Linked DNA regions of Homo sapiens: region 2 is linked to region 1. The links are contacts of gene promoters, found by promoter capture Hi-C in human tissues and cell types (Jung and others, 2019). All regions are on one chromosome and are shown on one strand. Each heading gives the region's core, a stretch centred on a gene start or on the middle of the fragment in contact. The rest is flanking DNA. Distances are from core to core; before and after follow the strand shown. Region 1 holds the start of VASH2 (vasohibin 2). Region 2 overlaps FLVCR1 (FLVCR choline and heme transporter 1).

Region 1 (3,312 bases), core at 459-2,958:
TGTCGGTTTACTCCGCTGATTATTTCTTTTGCTGTGCAGACCCTTTTTAGTTTAATTAGGTCTCATTTATTTATTTTCATTTTTGTTACATTTGCTTTTGAGGTCTTAGTCATGATTTCTTTGCCTGAGCTAATGTCTAGAAGTGTTTTTCTCATGTTATCTTCTAGAATTTTTATGGTTTCAGGTCTTAGACTTAAGTCTTTGATCCATCTGGAGTTGATTTTTGTGTAAGGTGAGAGACGAGGATCCAGTTTCATTCTACATGTCCACTTCAGCCTTTTGAGTAGCTGGGACTACAGGTGTGTGCCACCACATCTGGCTAATTTCAAAATATTTATTTAGTAGAGACAAGGTCTCGCTATGTTGGTCCAGTCTCTAATTCCTGGCCTCAAGTAATCCTTCCTCCTCTTTCTCCCAAAGTGCTGGGTTTAAAGGTGTGAGGCACCACGTCTGCCCTATTCTCATTATTGAATCTATAAAGTTCTTGGCATGGGCTCTGTCTCAGGGAGCAGTGCAGGGCTAAGTCCAGAATCCAGGTCTCCTCACCCAAGCCCTGGCTCTCAACTACCCCTCAGGGGTCTCTGCCCTCCTGTGGAAGAGAAGTTCCAGTTCCATGACAGGCAACTTGTCAGGATAAGCATCCAGAAACTGACCCGCCATCAGTGGCACTTTGACAACTGTCTTCTTAATTCAAGGTTCACTTAGCATAGGTCTCATAACTGCTTTGCTCAGAGCTGGCCTGCTGGCCTGCAGTTTAAAGAGAAAGGATGCTATGGCCAGGATCCTCAGTGTCACAAGAGAGGAAGTCAGGGAATCACAGAACCTTACAGCCAGAACAGACCCTGGAGAGCGGGAGGTCTGCTCTCCTTTCAGAAAGAGAAGCTAAGGCCCAGAGCAGGGAAGTGGCTTGTCCAGGGTCACACAGCTGAGCAAAGTGACAAACCTGGACCAGGAGCCAGCCTTCAGGTCAGCAGTCTGGTGCTCTTCCCACCTCAACCTGCTCTCCTCTTTCTTAAAGAAAAAGAAAGAGAAGGTGTTTCAGTAGTGAGTGTGGGATAGCCACCCACTTCACCATGGTTTGGAAGCATCTCTCCATCCCTCCTCTCACTCAACAGCTGTGGCAGAACAGTCAGGGCCTGCCTGACCTCTTGAGTTTTATTGTCTCCTCTCAACTTGGGCTTAAAGGGACTTTATTAACCATGACTAATACCAGAGGATCCAAAGCTGCACCCACTTGTTAATTTTGAGGAATTTTTAAATGCGGGATTTAAAAAAGATTTAATTTCACGCATAGGTATGAACAGCCCCTCATCATCCCAGGTAGAGGATGAACAACTCATCATCCCGGGTAGAGGCAGGTAAGTGTGTCCAGCGTCCCTCAGGGAATGCTCTTCTGATGCCAAACCCTCTGCTTCCGCGGGGTCACTTCTCGGGTGGTTTTGTTTCTCCTCTGCTTCCACAGTTGCAAACCCTCGAAGTGCCACGACCCCTGGGGAAACTCGATCTTAAGTCCCATGGCCAAACGCTCCAGCCCGCGGGGCTCTCAGGACACCACAGCGATCGGATTTCGCGTGGCCGCCAGGCTCCCCCTACTCCTGTCCCCTCCCGCCAGAGAACCCCTGGAGCCAATCAGAGCGTCGCGGAGCCCGGGGTTGTAGAGTCCCGAGCCCGGGACCCGCCCCTCTTTGTTGCGGTGGCCAATAGACGCATTCGGAACATCGGCGGCTGCCCGGGTGACTTGGTTATATGTCACAGAATAACATTCGAGAATGGGACATGGAATGAGGCGACGGCCCCAGCAAGCCCCAGCAGCCCCAGCCCCAGCCCCAGGCCCAGCAGCAGCAGCAGCAGCCCCTGCTCTCCCGCCGCCCGGAGAGGCTCTGCAGCCATGAAGCCAACCGTCCCGAGGTAGGATCTTGGAGCTGCCGCGCGCCCTTCCTGCGCGCCGCCCGCCTGCAGCCAGTCCCTCCCGGTGATAGGCGCTGGAACTCGGGGAAAAGGGGGCGGATGGAGCTCTTTCCACTAGATCCCCGCCGGGGTCCGGGAGGGCTTCCTGGAAGAAAGCGGGCCGCCTTGCAAGCCAAGGCTGCTGCAGCGCCCTCGCGCCAGCTCTGGGCGCTCACATGCCAGCACGTTCGTGGCTCCCCTCCTCTCTTGGCCACATCTGAGGACCCAGGAATGTGTGGAGCCTTGCGGGAACCTCCTGTTCCTTCATGCTACACAAGCTGTCTTTCTTCTCCCCACATCTTGCGCTCCGCATCCCCCAAGCTCCTTGTGCCCCTCCATCCCCAACCCCCCGGGTTTAGGTGTGTGTGAAGCTTCGTGGCACATTTTGAGCTGCCTTTCTAGGTAATCGCAGGGCTGGAAGCCCGTCATCGATTCTCAGGGAGGCTGTCAGCGTGCAGGGGGGAGCGGGGAGTGTCGTGGAGACACTCCGGGACCCCTCACTCGGTTCCGCTGTGCGTCCACTTAGCTGTGGTGTCAGCTGTGTCTCCGCTGATTTCAGGCACCGCCGGTAAGCAGGGAGCCTCCGCGGAGCTCCCGCCGCCGCTCCCCCTTGGTGAGTCCTGCCGCAGCGAGAGGCATGGAGAAGGCCGCCCCCGCGGGGCGCTGATCCCCTCGCCGCGCCCGCGCGCACACGCCCCCCGCCGCCGCCGCCGCTGCCGCCGCCGCGCGCCCCCAGTACCTCGCTCCCCGCCCAGGCCCCACCATGACCGGCTCCGCGGCCGACACTCACCGCTGCCCCCACCCCAAAGGCGCCAAAGGCACCCGGTCCCGGAGCAGCCACGCGCGGCCCGTGAGCCTCGCCACCAGCGGGGGCTCAGAGGAGGAGGACAAAGACGGCGGGGTGCTGTTCCACGTCAACAAGAGCGGCTTCCCCATCGACAGCCACACCTGGGAGCGCATGTGGATGCACGTGGCCAAGGTGCACCCTAAGGGGGGAGAAATGGTGGGCGCCATCAGGAACGCCGCCTTCTTGGCAAAGGTCAGTGGCTTCCAGGGCGGAGTTGGGGGGCTGGGGGTAGGTAGGCAGCGATGGGACCGTTTCAGCCTATACATAGCAAACACAGGCAATCTCCATTTTCCTAGTCCTGCTACAAACTCCCTTCCTCTCCCCATTCCTTCCTGCCAGCCCTTTTCTAATTGAGATATTTAGATTGGAAGCCTAAGAAATGGGGAAGGGAGAGGTAGCGGGCTTGCTATCCTGGGACTGTGTAATTGGATTGTGCCAAGGTGTCTTTGAAGCTCCAGCCAAACTCTATTATTTACTCACCCCCACATACATCCTCCTTCAGCAAAAGCTAGAGCCAC
Region 2 (3,312 bases), core at 813-3,312, 57 kb before region 1:
AGAATTGCTTGAATCTGGGAGGCTGAGGCAGAAGAATTGCTTGAATCCGGGAGGCGGAGGTTGCAGTGAGTGGTGAAGATCACACCACCACTCCAGCCTGGGTGACAAAGTGAGACTCCGTCTCAAAAAAAAAAACAGTATTATTGTTATACCAAAGAAGGGAGCAGTTTTGTAATCCTCCTTCAAATTACTTTTACAAGAGATTCATGAATACTAATTCAAACAAATCAAGTCTAGAAAATTAAGAAGTGAAAATAGATCTTTAAAATTAGTTTTACATTGATGCTTTTACCATCTCAAATGGTATTCCCTGAGGCACAACAATATTGAAATCAGGGCCCTGATTAATACCCCCAAATTATTACCCCTACAGTGGCCTCCAGGTGTTTAAGCAAAAGGAAGAGTAGTAAATCTCTCCTCTTAAATCAGAAGCTAAAAATGATTAAGCTTAGTGAACAAGTCATGTCAAAAGCCCAGATAGGCCAAAAGCTAGTCCTTTTGCACCAAACAATTAGCCAAGTTGCTAATGCAAAGGAAAAATTCTTAAGGGAAATTAAGAATGCTACTCCAGTGAACACAAATGATAAAACAGCCTATTGATATGGAGAAAGTTTGAGTGGTCTTGTTAGAAGATCATACCAGCCACAACATCGCCGTAAGCCAAAGCCTAATCTAGAGCAAGGCCCTAACTGTCCAATTCTGTGAACGTTGAAAGAGGTGAGAAAGTTGCGGAAGAAAAGCTGGAAACTAGCAGAGGTCAGTTCATGAGGTAAGGAAAGAAGTTGTCTTCATAACATAAAAGTGCAAGGTGAAGCAGCAAGTGCTGATGTAGATGCTGAAGTAGGTTATCCAGAAGATCTAGCTAAGATGATTGATGAAGGTGGCTACAATAAACCACAAATTTTCCATGTAGATGAAACAGGCTTATACTGGAAGAAGATGCCATCTAGGACTGCCATAGCTAGAGAGGAGGAATCAATGTCTGGCTTCAAAGGACAAGCTCATTCTCTTGTGAGGGGTTGATGCAGCTGGTGACTTCACATTGAAACTAATGCTTGTTGACCATTCTGAAAATCCTAGGGCCCTTAAGAATTAGGCCAAATTTTCTCTGCCTAAGCTCTAACAATGGAACAATGAACCTGAACCCCGTAGTTGATAGTACATCTGTTAGTAGCATGGTTTGCTGAATATTTTAAACCCATTGTTGAAGCCTGCTACTGAGAAAAACATTCCTTTCAAAATACTACTGCTCATTGACCAATTCACCTGTTTACCCAAGAGCTCTGATGAAGATGTACGAGGAGATCAATGTTGCTTTCATGTCTGGAAACACAGCATCCCTTCTGCAGCCCGTGGATCAAGGAGTAATTTCAACTTTCAAGTCTTATTCTTTAAGAAATACACTTCAAAAGGCTGTAGCTGCCAGAAATAATTATTCCTCTCTTGGATCTGAGCAAAGTAAATTGAGAACTTTCTGGAAAGGATGCACCATCCTAGATGCCATTAAGAACATTCTTGATTCATGGGAGGAGGTCAAACTATCAACATTAACAGGAGTTTGGAGGAAGTTAATTCCCATTCTCATGGATGATTTTGAGGTGTTCAAGACTTCAGTGGAGGAAATAGCTGCAGATGTGGTGGGAATAACAAGAGAACTGGAATTAGAAGTGGAATATGAAGAGGTAACTGAATTGCTGCATCTTATGGTAAAACCTGAAGAAATGAAGGGTTGCTTCTTTTTTTTTGGGGGGGGGTGCCGGAATGTTGCTGTGTTGCCCAGGCTGGAGTGCAGTGGCGTGATCTCGGCTCACAGCAAGCTCTGCCTCCCGGGTTCAGGCCATTCTCCTGCCTCAGCCTCCTGAGTAGCTGGGACTACAGGTGCCCGCCACCACGCCCGGCTAATTTTTTGTATTTTTTGTAGAGACGGGGTTTCACCATGTTAGCCAGGATGGTTTTGATTTCCTGACCTTGTGATCTGCCTGCCTCGGCCTCCCAAAGTGCTGGGATTACAGGTGTCAGCCACTGCGCCTGGCTGGGTTGCTTCTTATGGATAAGCAAAGAAAGTGTTTTCTTGAGTTGGAATCTACTAGTAAAGATGCTGTAAATGTTGAAATGACAACAAAGGATTTAGAATATTATATAAACTTAGCTGATGAAGCAGTGGCAGGGTTTGAGAGGATCAACTCCTGTTTTGAGGAAGTTTTGTGGGTAAAATGTTATCAAACAAGTATTGCACACAGAGAGATCTTTCATGAAAGGAAGAGTTGATTAATACGGCAAACTTCGTCACTGTCTTACTTTAAGAAATTGCCACAGCCGCTCCCACCTTTTAGCAACCACCACCCTGATCTGTCAGCAGCCATCAACATCAAGGCAAGACCCTCCACCAGCAAAAAGATAACTTGCAGAAGGCTTGGATAATCATTAGCATTTTTTAGCAGTAAAGTGTTTTTTGTTTTGTTTTGTTTTTTTGAGATGGAGTTTCGCTCTTGTTGCCCAGGCTGGAGTGGAATGGCGCCATCTGGGCTCACTGCAACCTCTGCCTCCTGGGTTCAAGTGATTCTCCTGCCTCAGCCTCCTGAGTAGCTGGGATTACAGATGCCCACCACCACAACCAGCTAATTTTTGTATTTTAGTAGAGATGGGGGTTTCACTATGTTGGCTAGGCTGGTCTCGAACTCCTGACCTCAAGTGATCCACCCGCCTCGGCCTCTCAAAGTGCTAGGATTACAGGCATGAGCCACTGAGCCTGGCCAGTAAAGTGTTTTTAAATTAAGGCATGTAGATTGATTTTTTTTTTTAGACATAATGCTATTGCAAACTTTAAATAGACTACAGTATAGTATAAACATAACTTTTTATGCACTGGAAAACCAAAAAATATGTGCAGTGGTGCGATCTCTGCTCACTGCAACCTCCACCTCCCAGGTTCAAGTGATTCTTCTGTCTCAGCCTCCCTAGTAGTTGGGACTACAGGTGCGTGCCGCCACGCCTGGCTAATTTTTTGTGTTTTTAGTAGAGATGGAGTTTCACCGTGTTGGCCGGGATGGTCTCGATCTTCTGACCTTGTGATCCACCCACCTCGGCCTCCCAAAGTGCTGGGATTACAGGCATGACCCACCACGCCCAGCAATATTCACTCTTTTGTGGTGATCTGGAGCTGAACCCACAATGTCTCTGAGATATACCTGCATTCCCTTCTGCCTAGAATGCCTTCCTCTCCTCTTGTCTGCTTGACAAGTTATTACTCAGTTTTTTCCAGTATCAAGTATGTCTTCTCTGGAAAGCCTTCTCTAATTTCCTTTGGCTGAC

Evidence for each region. Contacts are between HindIII fragments. The study calls those that stand out against the background at their distance.
Region 2: a contact is called between a fragment that was not itself captured here and the fragment with the promoter of VASH2 in region 1, in 4 of the 25 tissues and cell types used here (H1 embryonic stem cells, liver, lymphoblastoid cells and 1 more).

Annotation. Positions count from the first base shown.
Region 1 is chr1:212,948,833-212,952,144 of GRCh38, forward strand. VASH2 (vasohibin 2) reads left to right here and starts at 1,709. Exons shown (of 8, transcript NM_001301056.2): 1 at 1,709-1,908; 2 at 2,507-2,986. The coding sequence starts at 2,711. RefSeq lists enhancers at 1,695-1,844, 2,365-2,414. The HindIII fragment of the contact is 12,745 bases long and covers 1-3,312 here.
Region 2 is chr1:212,891,321-212,894,632 of GRCh38, forward strand. All of the region lies in intron 8 of FLVCR1 (FLVCR choline and heme transporter 1), which reads left to right. Among named protein-coding and RNA genes, the nearest start is that of FLVCR1, 35 kb to the left of the region's middle. The HindIII fragment of the contact is 4,420 bases long and covers 1-3,312 here.